4 separate regions of the Homo sapiens genome follow, and all the other regions are linked to region 4. The links are contacts of gene promoters, found by promoter capture Hi-C in blood cells and fetal thymus (Javierre and others, 2016). All regions are on one chromosome and are shown on one strand. The core of a region is centred on a gene start or on the middle of the fragment in contact, and the rest is flanking DNA. Distances in the headings are between cores, read along the strand shown.

Evidence for each region. The method cuts DNA at HindIII sites, captures the fragments that hold promoters and counts their contacts. A CHiCAGO score of 5 or more calls a contact.
Region 1: a contact is called between a fragment that was not itself captured here and the fragment with the promoter of LCOR in region 4, in 1 of 17 cell types (endothelial precursors). The highest score is 6.0, in endothelial precursors.
Region 2: a contact is called between a fragment that was not itself captured here and the fragment with the promoter of LCOR in region 4, in 2 of 17 cell types (total CD8 T cells and naive CD4 T cells). The highest score is 5.7, in total CD8 T cells.
Region 3: the fragment with the promoter of FRAT1 here is called in contact with the fragment with the promoter of LCOR in region 4 in 1 of 17 cell types (fetal thymus); the score reaches 8.9 in fetal thymus.

Annotation. Positions count from the first base shown.
Region 1 is chr10:96,367,445-96,370,702 of GRCh38, reverse strand. It overlaps TLL2 (tolloid like 2), which reads left to right. Exons shown (of 21, transcript NM_012465.4): 20 at 388-638; 21 at 2,481-3,258. The coding sequence ends at 2,615. Among named protein-coding and RNA genes, the nearest start is that of OPALIN, 10 kb to the right of the region's middle. The HindIII fragment of the contact is 492 bases long and covers 1,602-2,093 here.
Region 2 is chr10:96,524,792-96,528,198 of GRCh38, reverse strand. TM9SF3 (transmembrane 9 superfamily member 3) reads left to right here. Exons shown (of 15, transcript NM_020123.4): 12 at 22-168; 13 at 703-786; 14 at 910-986. Among named protein-coding and RNA genes, the nearest start is that of TLL2, 13 kb to the right of the region's middle. The HindIII fragment of the contact is 225 bases long and covers 1,352-1,576 here.
Region 3 is chr10:97,317,442-97,320,637 of GRCh38, reverse strand. It overlaps FRAT1 (FRAT regulator of Wnt signaling pathway 1), which reads right to left and starts at 1,367. Exons shown (of 1, transcript NM_005479.4): 1 at 1-1,367. The coding sequence starts at 1,184. The coding sequence ends at 345. RefSeq lists enhancers at 1-142, 1,232-1,526, 1,264-2,053 and silencers at 483-582, 1,083-1,392. The HindIII fragment of the contact is 4,234 bases long and covers 497-3,196 here.
Region 4 is chr10:96,830,863-96,834,095 of GRCh38, reverse strand. It overlaps LCOR (ligand dependent nuclear receptor corepressor), which reads right to left and starts at 1,798. Exons shown (of 8, transcript NM_001346516.2): 1 at 1,697-1,798; 2 at 617-690. It overlaps LOC102723665 (a long non-coding RNA gene), which reads left to right and starts at 1,638. Exons shown (of 1, transcript NR_135921.1): 1 at 1,638-3,233. RefSeq lists enhancers at 1-558, 559-1,274, 1,275-1,989 and silencers at 736-975, 1,016-1,075, 1,116-1,835, 1,846-1,895, 1,916-2,215. The HindIII fragment of the contact is 14,888 bases long and covers 1-3,233 here.

The DNA of each region.
Region 1 (3,258 bases), core at 598-3,097, 460 kb after region 4:
CTCAGATGCATCCAACACTTCCAGGGAATAAAGTGGCAAATAGATCCACCCATATCCCAGCGACCAGTGAGGCGAACCGTCCATTGGCTCCATGTCTCCATAACCGGAAAAAACAAAAAGCAGCCAACTCTTTTCAATGGCATGCTCACGTATTCTCAAGCTGGGAACAGGGGACCTTGGCTTGTGAGGGCCACTTTGCACCCCCGAGGGAGCCCTGACCTGGGAGCCAGGGGCCTCTGTGTACTCCTCCATCAAATGGGGTGACGAGACTACCTGGCCTCTCCTGCCAGGCACGCACCAGGCTCTGTAGAGAAAGCCGAGCAGACGCAGGCGGGAGGCACGAGGGTGTCTTGTGCTGAGGGGACATCTCACTTCTCTCTGCTCCAGAGTGCGGGGGCAGGCTGAAGGCTGAAGTGCAGACCAAAGAGCTCTATTCCCACGCCCAGTTTGGGGACAACAACTACCCGAGCGAGGCCCGCTGTGACTGGGTGATCGTGGCAGAGGACGGCTACGGCGTGGAGCTGACATTCCGGACCTTTGAGGTTGAGGAGGAGGCCGACTGCGGCTACGACTACATGGAAGCCTACGACGGCTACGACAGCTCAGCGCCCAGGCTCGGCCGCTTCTGTGGCTCTGGGGTAAGTCCCGGAGACGCTGGGGCCGGGGCAGAGTGTGATGATTCACAGCAGGAGTTGTGGAGTCAGACACGCCCGGCTTTCAGTCCCGGCCACCTACTCCACTTAGGAGCAACGGCGAGGAGGCACGTTCTGCAGAAGCGGAGTGGGAAGCAGGAGAACCGTCAGGAGAGGAGGTTGGGAGGCAGCCAGGGACCAGTCCTTGAAGGCCCCTTACTGAGGCCAGCCATGGAAGAGCACTTTTCCTTTTGGGACTTTCACCTATTTTTGCAAAGGCTTTCCCTCTCCCCTCCTTTTTTTTTTTTTTCTTTTTTTTCCCCCGAGACGGAGTCTTGCTCTGTCGCCCAGGCTGGATCTCGGCTCACTGCAACCTCTGCCTCCTGAGTTCATGCGATTCTCCTGCCTCAGCCTCCCAAGTAGCTGGGATTACAGACATGCGCCACCACACCCACCTAATTTTTGTATTTTCAGTAGAGACGGGGTTTCACCATGTTGGTCAGGCTGGTCTTGAACTCCTGACCTCAAGTGATCCACCTGCCTCGTCCTTCCAAAGTGCTGGGACTACAGGCGTGAGCCACCATGCGCAGCCACTCTCCTCCATTTTTATTTGGCCTTCAGGCTTTAAAAATATTTAATTATGCTTTTATATATTTCTTATATTCACATTTCTCTCCTCAAGCAAAACCAAATGCTCTGAAAATTACAAGTCACTTACTATACACACAATAGTTGTGCTCAAGGTCATTATCAATGTTCTCATTATTGATTTCTTTAGTGGGCCTATTGTGTTTGCTGTTTCTCCAGCACCTGACACTGGGCTTGGCATATAGTTGGTGCTTGGTGGGAGTTTGCGCATTGGCCAGTACAGTGTCCCAGTCACTCCCCTGGCTGCACCGCACTGGACACTGCCCATACTGGGCACCAGCCCCCTCCTTTCTGTTGCCTGGAGGCCCGGTCGCTCAAGCTTCTTTGCTATTGGCTGGACTTATAGCACATCATTTTTGAGTCACCAGTGGTCCTTGTGCTAAACGGAAACTCAAATTGGCATTTATATTTCTTTGAATAATTCCCTTCATCTTCTTTCACCCTCTAAAAAAGGAAGAATGACAAAGTGGCACTTAACCAATGCACTGCCTTTGATAAAATCTTTCAAACTATGAGGTCTGTGGAAAGGAACCCCTTGGAGGGGTTAACTGAGCAGTTAACTGTGGGGGAAGCCCACTTTGGCTCCACTAGAACCTCGCAGGCAACAGCCTTGGAACGTGGCTCCCATTCACAGACCACCTGGCAAAACCTTTCTGACCAATATAGTGGCTCCATCCCATTTTTTTGTCCTTGGATGAGACAGAGGCCTGAACCATGGTCTTTGTTTCAGGTCTCCTGGGAGACACATCATAATGGTGACCCTGGAGCTCGGTGATTCATGGTGCATCCTTTACTGTCAGAAGGACCTAAGCTTGGGTCCCGCCTACCTGCGAGAACTTGAGTCTCAGTTTCCTGAAGTGAAAAATGGGGATAGTACCTGCCTTATAAGGTTGCTGTAAAGTTTACATAAGATCTGGAATTGCCTAGTGCAGCACCTGACCCACCTGCATACTTAATAAATAATAGATTCTATATGAGCTATGCACCTAGGATCATCTTTGGAAGAGCAGGGCCTGCAAAGCTCCCTGGAGCAGAATTTGCAATGTTTTCTTTTGAAAAGGAGCTTGTTTGGATGCCCTTCAGAGTCTCTGGTACCAGAGACACATCCTGTGTCCTTGCATAAGATCCTGTCCCATCCTCCTCATTTTCAACTCCAATCACAGCTAAAGTCCTTCTCGTTTCCCTTTCTCCTTTCCTCAGCCATTAGAAGAAATCTACTCTGCAGGTGATTCCCTGATGATTCGATTCCGCACAGATGACACCATCAACAAGAAAGGCTTTCATGCCCGATACACCAGCACCAAGTTCCAGGATGCCCTGCACATGAAGAAATAGTGCTGATGTTCTTGAAAGACAGAAACTGAGAATTTTTTTTGTTTTGTTTTGTTTTTAACAACAATAGCACCTTGAAAATCTGCCCTAAAACAGTGTACAGTATTTTTCTCAAACAAAAACTCAGAATCCAGCCTTAGAGGTATATATTTGAATGAAAGTCTTGTAAGTTTGGCCAACAAGGTGGAGAGAAAAATGTTCTTTTGCTTCTGTCTGCAATGTTATCATTCATGAACTGTTAAAGTGTTAAAGATTAGGATTGAAGTCACTGACCATTCCGGCTATGCTTCTTCATACCATTCTCCTTGTCCCTTGCTCCTATGTGGCAAAAGGTCAGCCTTGGGGTTGGCCGTTCCTCTAATCTGGACTTGCTTGCAAAGGTGCCAGGCTGTCTTCTGTCCATGTTGGGCATAAGGGATGAAAACTTGGCCGAGACTAATGTGTGGCCCACAGCTTTGGCTGGAATCATTTTCTTTCTCTCTGCCAGGGACATGTCAACCAAGAAACCTGAAAATATGGATGGATGTCAGGACTAAAAAAAGGCATCACAGTGAGCAGTGAGCACAGAGGGAGTTTCGAGTATAAGAATCATTGTCATGAAGTTAGGAGACCACAAAGCCATTTCTCAGAGTCATTCACTCTCCTT
Region 2 (3,407 bases), core at 215-2,714, 310 kb after region 4:
GTCTTTATTGCATTTACTTAGGTATTTCATCTTCACGTCTTTCTGGGCATATAAGATCTATTATGTCTATGGCTTCATGATGCTGGTGCTGGTTATCCTGTGCATTGTGACTGTCTGTGTGACTATTGTGTGCACATATTTTCTACTAAATGCAGAAGATTACCGGTGGTAAGTACCTATTTGTGGATAGAAATTTGGGGAACCATAATATTTTAAAATAAGATTTCCTTTGAAATCTATCAAGTGGAGTAAAGAGCTGTATAGAAATGTTGTTACTTAAAATAGCATAGGGATTTTTTTCCAGTTATAAAAATGATACATATTTTAGAGAAAAAATATCAAATTTTTAATGTATTAATGGAGTACTGTGTTAGAAATATTTTTTACAAAGTGCTTGATATGAAAAGAGTTTTATGAGAAGCATTGCTCCATTCTAAACACAAGGAAACTTAGATATGAAAAAGGAAATGGTGTATTTATGGTCACTGGTAATAGGGAATCTGACAAAATTCAAGATTGAGCTTTCTAATTCTTAGATGTTTTCCTTGTTGATAAATTTGAATACCATGTCTATGCATTTGTTTTTTAAATAAGTTTTAAAGGACTTTAAAGGATGTTTTATTAAATTCTTTGCTTTAAAATCTTTGTTTTAGTGCCATTCATTCAAAAGAGATTTATCTTCTTTCCCCCTCCCCCCACCAGGCAATGGACAAGTTTTCTCTCTGCTGCATCAACTGCAATCTATGTTTACATGTATTCCTTTTACTACTATTTTTTCAAAACAAAGTAAGTGGAGACATTTTTTTACCTTTTATTTAGGAAACTAAATTTGTCCTTTAAATACTAATATTTAAGGCCTTAAGTTGAAAGTAAAACTGGATATCCTATATATATTTTGTTTTATTTCAGGATGTATGGCTTATTTCAAACATCATTTTACTTTGGATATATGGCGGTATTTAGCACAGCCTTGGGGATAATGTGTGGTAAGTTTTGAAATTCTTTGAACATCATGAGTAAATCTGAGTTTCTCTAAATCCGAAAAATACAGTAATTGGAAATTAAGAAATTTTATCTGTTGTTTGATCAGAAACACCAAAATAAACCCGAGTCTGATTTCAGTCCTTTTGACTCTTCCCCACAACATAATTTATTACCTTATTAATTTCTATTTTTATAGAAATTCTAGTAATTCTGTATAGCACAGAATTTCATATCACAGTTTTTCATTCATGTTGAGAATTGGCTTTTTCATTTTATTTATTGTTTTTAGAGACTCAGCTTCTTAACTAGCTGGGACTACAGGCACATGCCACTGTGCCTGGCTTGAGAATTGGCATTTTTTAAAGCTTAGGTTCAATGGAAGATCATGATGTAGGCATGTTAAGGTGTTGCCTGAATGATTCCTGTTTGGAAACTTCTCAGAGTATTCTTGGAGAAACCAGGAGACACCTAGGAGACAGCACAGTTTACTTGTTATGATTGCATACTTGGGTATCTACAGACTGGACTTAAGTTCTAGCTGTACCATATGTATGCTTTCCACCTTGATCTAGTTCCCCAAGCTCTCTAAGCTTCTGTAAAGTGGGGATAAAACCACTATTTATGGATCTATCATAATCATCTATTAAAAGGAAGAGGTAATAGTTTTCACCATGTGATAGAATCTCTAGAATGTGTGAAATAGCTAGAAAATAAAGAACTTTTGGAAACAGTATGATAAATGGGAAAGGCATAAGCATGAGAGCCTGAAAGCACTGGAATAAATGTCCATGCTGTTGCTCAGCTTTTTTTATGGCCATGGAGGTCACATTAACCTTTCTAAGTCTCATTTTTATCTGTAAAATGGGCATATCTTTCAGAGTGGTTGTGAGGAATAGTGTCATGTGTGTAAAGCACCAAGTGTAGTGTTGGGACTGTTATTAGGTAGTAACGATAGCCATTTACATGGTGAGATATGGAAAGAGCTGGCCTTTTGGGGTCAGTCTGTTCTGGGTGTGAACTCCCCACTTAATAGCCATGTTACTCTGGCCAAATTATTTAACCTTTCTTCCTCAACTTTACTCATTTGCAAAATAGAAATAATACCTACCTCATAGGGCTATAAAGAGGATTCAGTGATTAAATGTGGATAAACATCACGTGGCTGGTAGATGCTCAGTGAGGGGTAGCTGCTGCTGCTATTGATGAAGGCTGAAAGTCCTTGGGCTTCCTTCTGCTCTGGAATTGTGTCTGTGTTTCTGCACAGTCTCTGTGGGATTCTACACCTTGTGTTTTCATCTCAGAACAACTTTATGACTCTAAGTTCTGGCAGAGGTAACTTAAGGGAAACTCATACAAGTAACTCACTTTTTTTTGGGCTCAGTGTTTTACTTGATAAATGAGACTGGTCCCTTAATTACTTTGTAGGAATGATGTGTTTTACTTGATAAATGAGACTGATCCCTTGGTTACTTTGTAGGAATGATGTAAGGCTGCGGGACTAATCATGGTGGAAACATTTCCAGAGAGTGGATAATTTTCCTCCTTTTTCTGTTACTTGCCATTGGCTATTTATGTATGTATGTGTGTATTTGATAATTCCACCTTTGGCTATATAAGATATATATAAGATATGGTAATCTTATTAAAAGCTAAGTCTTGGTATGACATTTATGGACACCTTTGGGGTACCAAGATTGCTTTGTTTCTCCATCAAAAGAGCCTGTTCAGTTCATATACACTATGTATGTGATCATGTGTGTGCGCACACACAAATGAGATTGTCCGTAAAGTAGTGAATGAAACATTCCACAAGGAAAGATCATTCTCTATGTTATAGTCACATGTTTTATTTATAGCTGCTGTGATAGCCATTCCCTGTGATAATTAGTAACCAACTTTGAGAGAAAGATGAGAGGGACTGAAGGTTAAAACTACATTGTGTCAGGTGGAAACATCCCTATTCTTGGACAGTCAGAAGGTTCCTTATTATTTGCCATCCTTTCTTCAGAGTATTGTTCACTGGACTCCTCTTTATTTTATCTGAGATTTTTCTTGATTATCACCAGCATTCAGTGAGGTATAGAATCGATTATGCAGAGAGTTAAAAAAATTTTTCTTGACTTGACTTTTTCTATATGTGATCTTAGGAAGACCCAGAGAGGTAACATCTTGACATTTACAAAGAAAATGGAATGAATCTAGCTAAATTTTTTGAGTGCTTTTCCTGCTGAAATTTCATCTTGCTGCCTGAAAACCTTGGCACATTTACAGTTCCCTGCTGTTCTGGCAATGTCCCAGCATTTATTCTTTAATGGGTTTATATGCCTTCAGTACTTCATTTTTCAGGGGCAGGTGGGGAGAAACTGTTTAGACTGGAAGTCATTAGAATGTCATCATAATACAAAAATTATATATATCCATCA
Region 3 (3,196 bases), core at 118-2,617, 490 kb before region 4:
TGGCCACATGGTCGCGGGGCTGGAGGGCACTGAGAGGCTGCGAGGAAATGCAGGCTCCGCGGCCAGGTCGGGTCACGCCAAATAAGGAGTCCTACTGACTTGTACGTTTGAGGTGCGCTCTGTAAAATCTGCCTTAAATAGGGCCAAAGTCCTTCATTCCAAATATTTTGGCCCTCAACCCCAGTTACCCGCGAAACACTCGCGATTTTTCGGTTCCTCGTCATTAGCTTTTTACTCTCGCTTCCAAAAGCCAGAGTTCTCCACCAGCCTGAGTAGAACTGCAGCCCTCAAGGGAACCCCTTGCCCTCCAGTCTGAGGCTGGCGCTGTGGCCACCCCGGGCGTGTTAGCTGCCAGGCACAAGAACGCCGTCGCCAGTTCTGAGCTGCGCCCTCCCGGAGGCGCCAGGGTCACTGCAGGCCGCGCGAGGGCTGCGAGGCGAAGGGGGTTCATGCACCGGGGCCGACAGAGGTCCCAGGAGCGGGCGTTGGGGAAGCTTTGCACGTAACTGCAGCCGTCGCGAATGAAGCCTTCGCACGGCCTCCTTGATGAGGTTTCCAGAGAGCACTAGCTGCTGCAGAAGCCGGTGCGGGTCGTCGTCGCCTGTGCGGGTTTCTGGTTGGGACCCGCGTCGCTGCTGCAGGCGGCGGGAGGCGGCGGCGCCCCGGAGCCATCCTCGCCGGCACGGACCCGACAGCGGCTGCGGGATGCCCTGCTTGCCAGCTCCCGGAGGCCCATCAAGGTCGGCCTGAGGGGGCAGTGGGGACAGCGCGCTGGGGCCTGTGGCGAGCTCGGCCACGCAGTAGGGCGCAGCGCGGCCCCGCACGCGGCCGCGGTCCCCCAGGGCGCAGCGCAGGACCCCAGGGGGCGCCGGGCCCACAGTCTCCGCCAACGCGGGCGGCAGCAGCAGCGGCACCGCCGGGGACCTGGCCTTGTCCGCCGGCACCGCCGCAGCCAGGGGCCCCGGGGCCCGCAGCGGCGCCCCCGGGGGCCCGCACGGCGAGGCCGGGCTGTGCTGCGCCGCGTCCAGCTGCAGCGTCTCGCCGATCTGGGCCACCAGCCGGTCCACCTCGCCCGAGCTGCCCAGCGCCACTGACTGCTGCAGTAGGAGGAAGCTGTCCTCCTCCTCTTCCTCCCCCTCCGCCTCCTCGCCGGCTTCCTCTTCCTCCTCCCTCCGGCACGGCATGGCCCCCTGTCTGGGCACCCGGAGCTGTGCGGGCGTCGCTGGGGGCTCGGCTGCCGGCGGGCGCGGTGGGCCGCGGCGGAGCGGGCGCGGAGCTGAAGACTAAGTCTGGACCGGGGCCGGGGCGGACGCGGAAGCCGGAGCCCGCCAGGCACTCTAGCCGCGCGCCTGCAGCCGCGGGAGCCGGAATCCTGCCGGCTCGGGTTGATTTGTAAACAATGGGTGACGTCACGTCGGGCCCTACCACCGCGCCGGGGAGGGGGTGCTGTGCCGCTGGGGGACGGCGCTTCTGTGGGATTGGGGGTCTGGGTGAAGCCGGACTGCCTTCTGAGCTCCTTCGCTCAGGGTGCTGTCTGCAAGGGCGCCCTGGGGACCTGATCCTGGCTCCCGCAGTCGGGCGCGATTGGCATTTCCAGAAATGGGCACCAGCGTGAACCCTGTTGGTTTCTTCCACACACAAGCAAGCACGCACACTAACACACACCCACCCACCCACACACCCCTTCTCTCCGTGCGTCAACTCAACCGGTTTTTAGCGTTTGCGCTTTTGAGGTCCGGCATGCGGGCGTCTGGTGAGGATGGAAAGGAAAGGGAGTCAGGCTAGGGATTTGTACGGAGATTAGGGAAATGAAGCTGACGGGAATGGAAAGGAAGAAGGGGACCTTGTCGTTCGATGGAGGTGGCAGAGTTGGAAATGGCAAAGAAAGGCCACAGATTAATGTTTTTTGATCGAGATCCTGGGCGGATGGGGGCCTGGACTGGGGTTGGCATTGCTGGAGAGGAGGTTGCTAGTCTTTTTGTTTATTTGTTTGTTTGTTTTTTTGAGACGGAGTCTCGCTCTATCGCCCAGGCTGGAGTGCAGTGGCTCGATCTCCACTCACTACAACCTCCGCCTCCTGCGTTTAAGCAATTCTCCTGCCTCAGCCTTCCGAGTAGCTGGGATTACAGGCGCCCACCACCACGCCCGGCTAATTTTTGTATTTTTAGTAGAGACGGGGTTTCACCATGTTGGCCAGGCTGGTCTCGAACTCCTGACCTCAGGTGATCCACCCGCCTCAGCCTCCCAAAGTGCTGGGATTACAGGCGTGAGCCACTGCGCCCGGCCTAGGTTGCTACTCTTTTTGTTTTGTTTTGTTTTTTTGAGACAGAGTTTCGCTCTTGTTGCCCAGGCTGGAGTACAATGGCGCAATCTCCGCTCACCACAACTTCCGCCTCCTGGGTTCAAGCAGTTCTCCTGCCTCAGCCTCCCGAGTTGCTGGGATTACAGGCATGCGCCGCCATGCCCAGCCTAATTTTGTGTTTTTAGCAGAGATGGGGTTTCTCCATATTGGTCAGGCTGGTCTGGTACTCCCGACCTCAGGTGATCCACCTGCCTCGGCCTCCCAAAATCCTGGGATTACAAGCGTGAGCCACCACGCCTGGCTATAGGTTGTTAGTCTTAAGAGGGGCTATGTCCAGAAAGTTGTTTAAAAAAAAGCCTCAGACCAGTAGGGGGGATGGGCTCTGAGGAGGTACGTAGTAGCAGAGAAAAATACCTGTTTGGATGAAAATGGAGATACGCTTCCTTCCTTCCTTTCTTCCTTTTCTTTCTCTTTCTTTTCTTTCTTTGACAGAATTTCACTCTGTCACCCAGGCTGGAGTGCAGTGGTGTGATCTGGCTGATTGCAGCCTTGACTTCCCAGGATCAGGTGATCCTCCCACCTCAGCCTCCCGAGTAGCTGGGACAATAGGCACGCGCCACTACACCTGGCTAATTTTTGTATTTTTAGTGGATACAGGGTTTCGCCATGTTGGCCCGTCCGGTCTCAAACTCCTGGACTCAAGCAATCCCTCCTCCCGAAATGCTGGCGTTACAGACATGAGCCACCGCGCCCAGCCTGGAAGCAACTTTAAAATTCTGAGCATGATATAGAAAATAGGATACAAAGAAAGAAATGAGCCTGGAGATCCAGATAAATAGAAAACGAGGGTCTTGTTGGGCAGTTCCAACGATAATAATTATAGGAGCAAACCTT
Region 4 (3,233 bases), core at 549-3,048:
ACCTGATTTTTCACTTGTTTAAAGTTTCAATTTTGCTTTTTAATCTATTATCGAAAACATCCCTTGTGGGACATTGTAAAGGGCAGACCCTCCTGTCAAGCCAGAAGGCTCAAACACAAAGACACTGAGCTAACCAAGTGCTGTAATTCTTCCAAACTGAGCCTCTCCACACCCCCTCCACCCTTCCCCCCAACAGATATGTCTATTAAATCAGTGTCTGTTCTCCCCCTCGCACAACAAAGAGAACTTCTCACCGCATGAAATTGCCGCTGAATGGACACCAGAAAGCAGGATTTGCATAATTCCTTCCAACGAAACCCTGTCGGGAAGGAGGGAATGAGGGGCCCAAGCGAACGGATAGACTCTCCTAGATTCTGCCGGGAAAGACCTGGTTCCCAAGAATATTCCCCTGGGGGAGAAGGGGCTGGAATTCTGGGCCTCCCCGAGGACTGGGCGTGGGGGACAGCGGACGACGAGAGGGCATCTCCCCACACACCAGCAGCACCGAAGCAAAGACGGGGAAGTAACAATGCTGGAGGACAGGAGAGTCAGACACAAGGATGGACTGGGGCTAGGGGGCGGCGGGCGGAGCGGAGACACCACACGGGCCACTTACTTTTTGGAGGGGGGTTAAATATATGAGTTAAGCCCTTATGGTCCCGCCGGCCGCCGCACAGAGGGAAACGGGACCTTGGGAGAGAAAAACAGACAAAACACACAGTGTGAGAGGCGCAGCTCGGCCGCCCGGCCCCTCCCGGGGCGCCCCCGTCCGCGCTCCCTCCGGCCCGCAGGGAAAAAGCCACCCGAGGGCGGCCCAAGGTCCGGGAGGCGGGGGGCGGACGGGGCATTCGGGCGAGGCTGCGGCTCCGGCCAATCCCCGGGAGGGGACGAGAGCGACCCCCGCCGGGGCTCCTCGGTCGGACCCGGTCCCACCCCCTCCTCCCGCAGCACGACACCGAACACAAATACGCACACACCGACCCGTGCGTCGAGGATTAACTCCCCGGCCACCGCCGCCCGCTGAGGAAGTGCAGCCGCTGCCCCCCGCGGCCATGACACCCCACTTGGCTCGGTCAGGCGCACCCGGGGACTGTGACAGCTCCAGCTCCCTCCGCCCCCATCTCCACCTCACGCTTCGCACACGCCCGAGCGCCGGGCGCCCGCCTGCAGCCCGCCGCGCGTGCACGCAGACCCGGGGGCGCGCCCCGCGCGTGGGGGAGGGGTGGCGCAGGAGGAGGACGGCGGCGGCCACAGCGCGGGTGGGGGCCGAGCACGCCCGCGCCCCTCGCGCCTCCCCCAGTACAGCGGCAGCGCCGCGAGGCGAGTCGCCACAATAAGCCGGCGGCGGCGCCGGGGCGCCGGGCCTGGAGCGGGAGCAGGGGCGGGAGCGGGGAGGGAGGGGAGCGAGCAGGCGGGGATGGAGAGCGGGAGGGGGAGGAACCCGCGCTCCCGCCGAGAGCCAGCCCCGGGGAGGCGCGCGGAGGGGAGGGGCCGGCGCGCGCTCGGCCGAGCAGGGGAGCCCGCCTGGAGGTCGCGCGCGCTCACACTCCGGGGGGTGGGGGAAGGGGGGACGCTCGAGCCAAAGAGGGCGGGCGGGCCGGAGCAGCAATTGCCACTTCCCCAGCTTCCTCCCTGGTCTGGGGCGACCGGCGGCGGGGCGGCCGGAGGGGCGGCGGCGGTCGGCGGAGGGTCTCACCTACACAGTGAATGAGCTTGTGGCGCCACGAATCCAGTTCTTGCCGAAAGCCGCGTCTCTCAACGGAGCATTGCTGCCGCCTACACACCCTCGCCATCTTCTGCCGCCCGCCCGGCCCAGCCTCCGCCGCGGCCCCGCGCACGCCCAGCCGCGTCGCCCGGGGCCGCGCACGCACCCGCGGCCCGGGCGTCGCGCCTCCTGCCGGGGGCGGTGCGGGGGCAGGGCCGGCCTCACCTCACCGTGGCCCCGGCGTGGCCCGGGGGCGGCCTGGGCCCGCTCACCCGCCCCGCGCGCCGCCCGCCGGGCTGCGATCCCGCCGTCCTTCTACGCGGCTGCCGCCGCCTCTGGCCGCCCGGGACGGCGCCTTCCCACAGCCGGAAGTCAGTCCCGCTGGCCCCGCGCCGCCTTCGCACTGTCCCCCAAGGCCACGGCTGCCCCCGCCCTCCCCGGGGCTTTTTGTTTTTTACGCCAGCCCCATTTATCACTTCCAACCTGCCTATCGCCCGGCACCAACTGTTGCAAGTTCCGTAATAACTGCTGCTATGAACTTCTCCGTCGAAACTGCTCCTCCCCAGAGCCTGTTTAAGAAGCAGAAATAAGAATAAATTCCCGGATGCCGGTGGATGCACTGACCTCTAAGATTTTCAAAGGTGAAGTGGATACACGTTATTAAGTCATTGGGAGACATCGCCAACATTGGGAAACCTAGTAAAAAGTGGAAATCGAGCGTTTTAAATAAAAAAAAAAAAAGGTTTCTACTAGCAAGACTGATCGTAGGCGAACTTCTCAAGGAATTTTGGAATATTGTGCCAAAGTGAGAATATTTAATATTTCCAAAAGTAGACTTAACTAGGAATACTTAAAGCAGAGACTATTGGAAATGCTTTAATTTGGGATTTCAGGAAAGGGCTTGAAGAGAAATATTTTATATGAGCAAGCCTCTTGGAATAATTGAATCACCTTAATTTTGTCACTGTTACTTCGAAGAGAACGAGAAGAGAGAAGATGGGAAACGAAAGGAGAAAGGGAAAAGAAATGGGGTGGAAAGAAAAAAGCAGAAGAGATCGCCCTATACCAGTAGGCCTAGTACCCTAGGATTCTGGCCTCTTTCTCCCACCTTTGGTGTTTAAGATTAAGGACAGTGCATTCCTGCTTTTAGAAATTTAAATTTAAGTTTGAAGACTTAATTTTAATTACTGTAGTAGGTAAAGCAAAGTCGTTAAATACTTGACATCAGGATCCCATTGGAGTATTGATTTAGGTCTTTTCAAAGGTGGTGGTCCTGGTTCTCTGCACCAGCCACTGGCGGAATGGCGGAATGGTGTATCTACCAATGAACAGATGGACTGGGTGGGCCTCGGGTACGGGTGGCTTGAGATGCAAATGCAAGGGTAGGAAGGCACCTTCCCCCCCACCACTCCCAGCCCACCCCGCCAATCTTAAAACATTGATCTTTATAAAATTCGCAAACGTCCCACAGGATTTCATTGGCTTAAGAGTATTGTCAAATGAAGACGCCAGGAAGTATTGAGTTTCT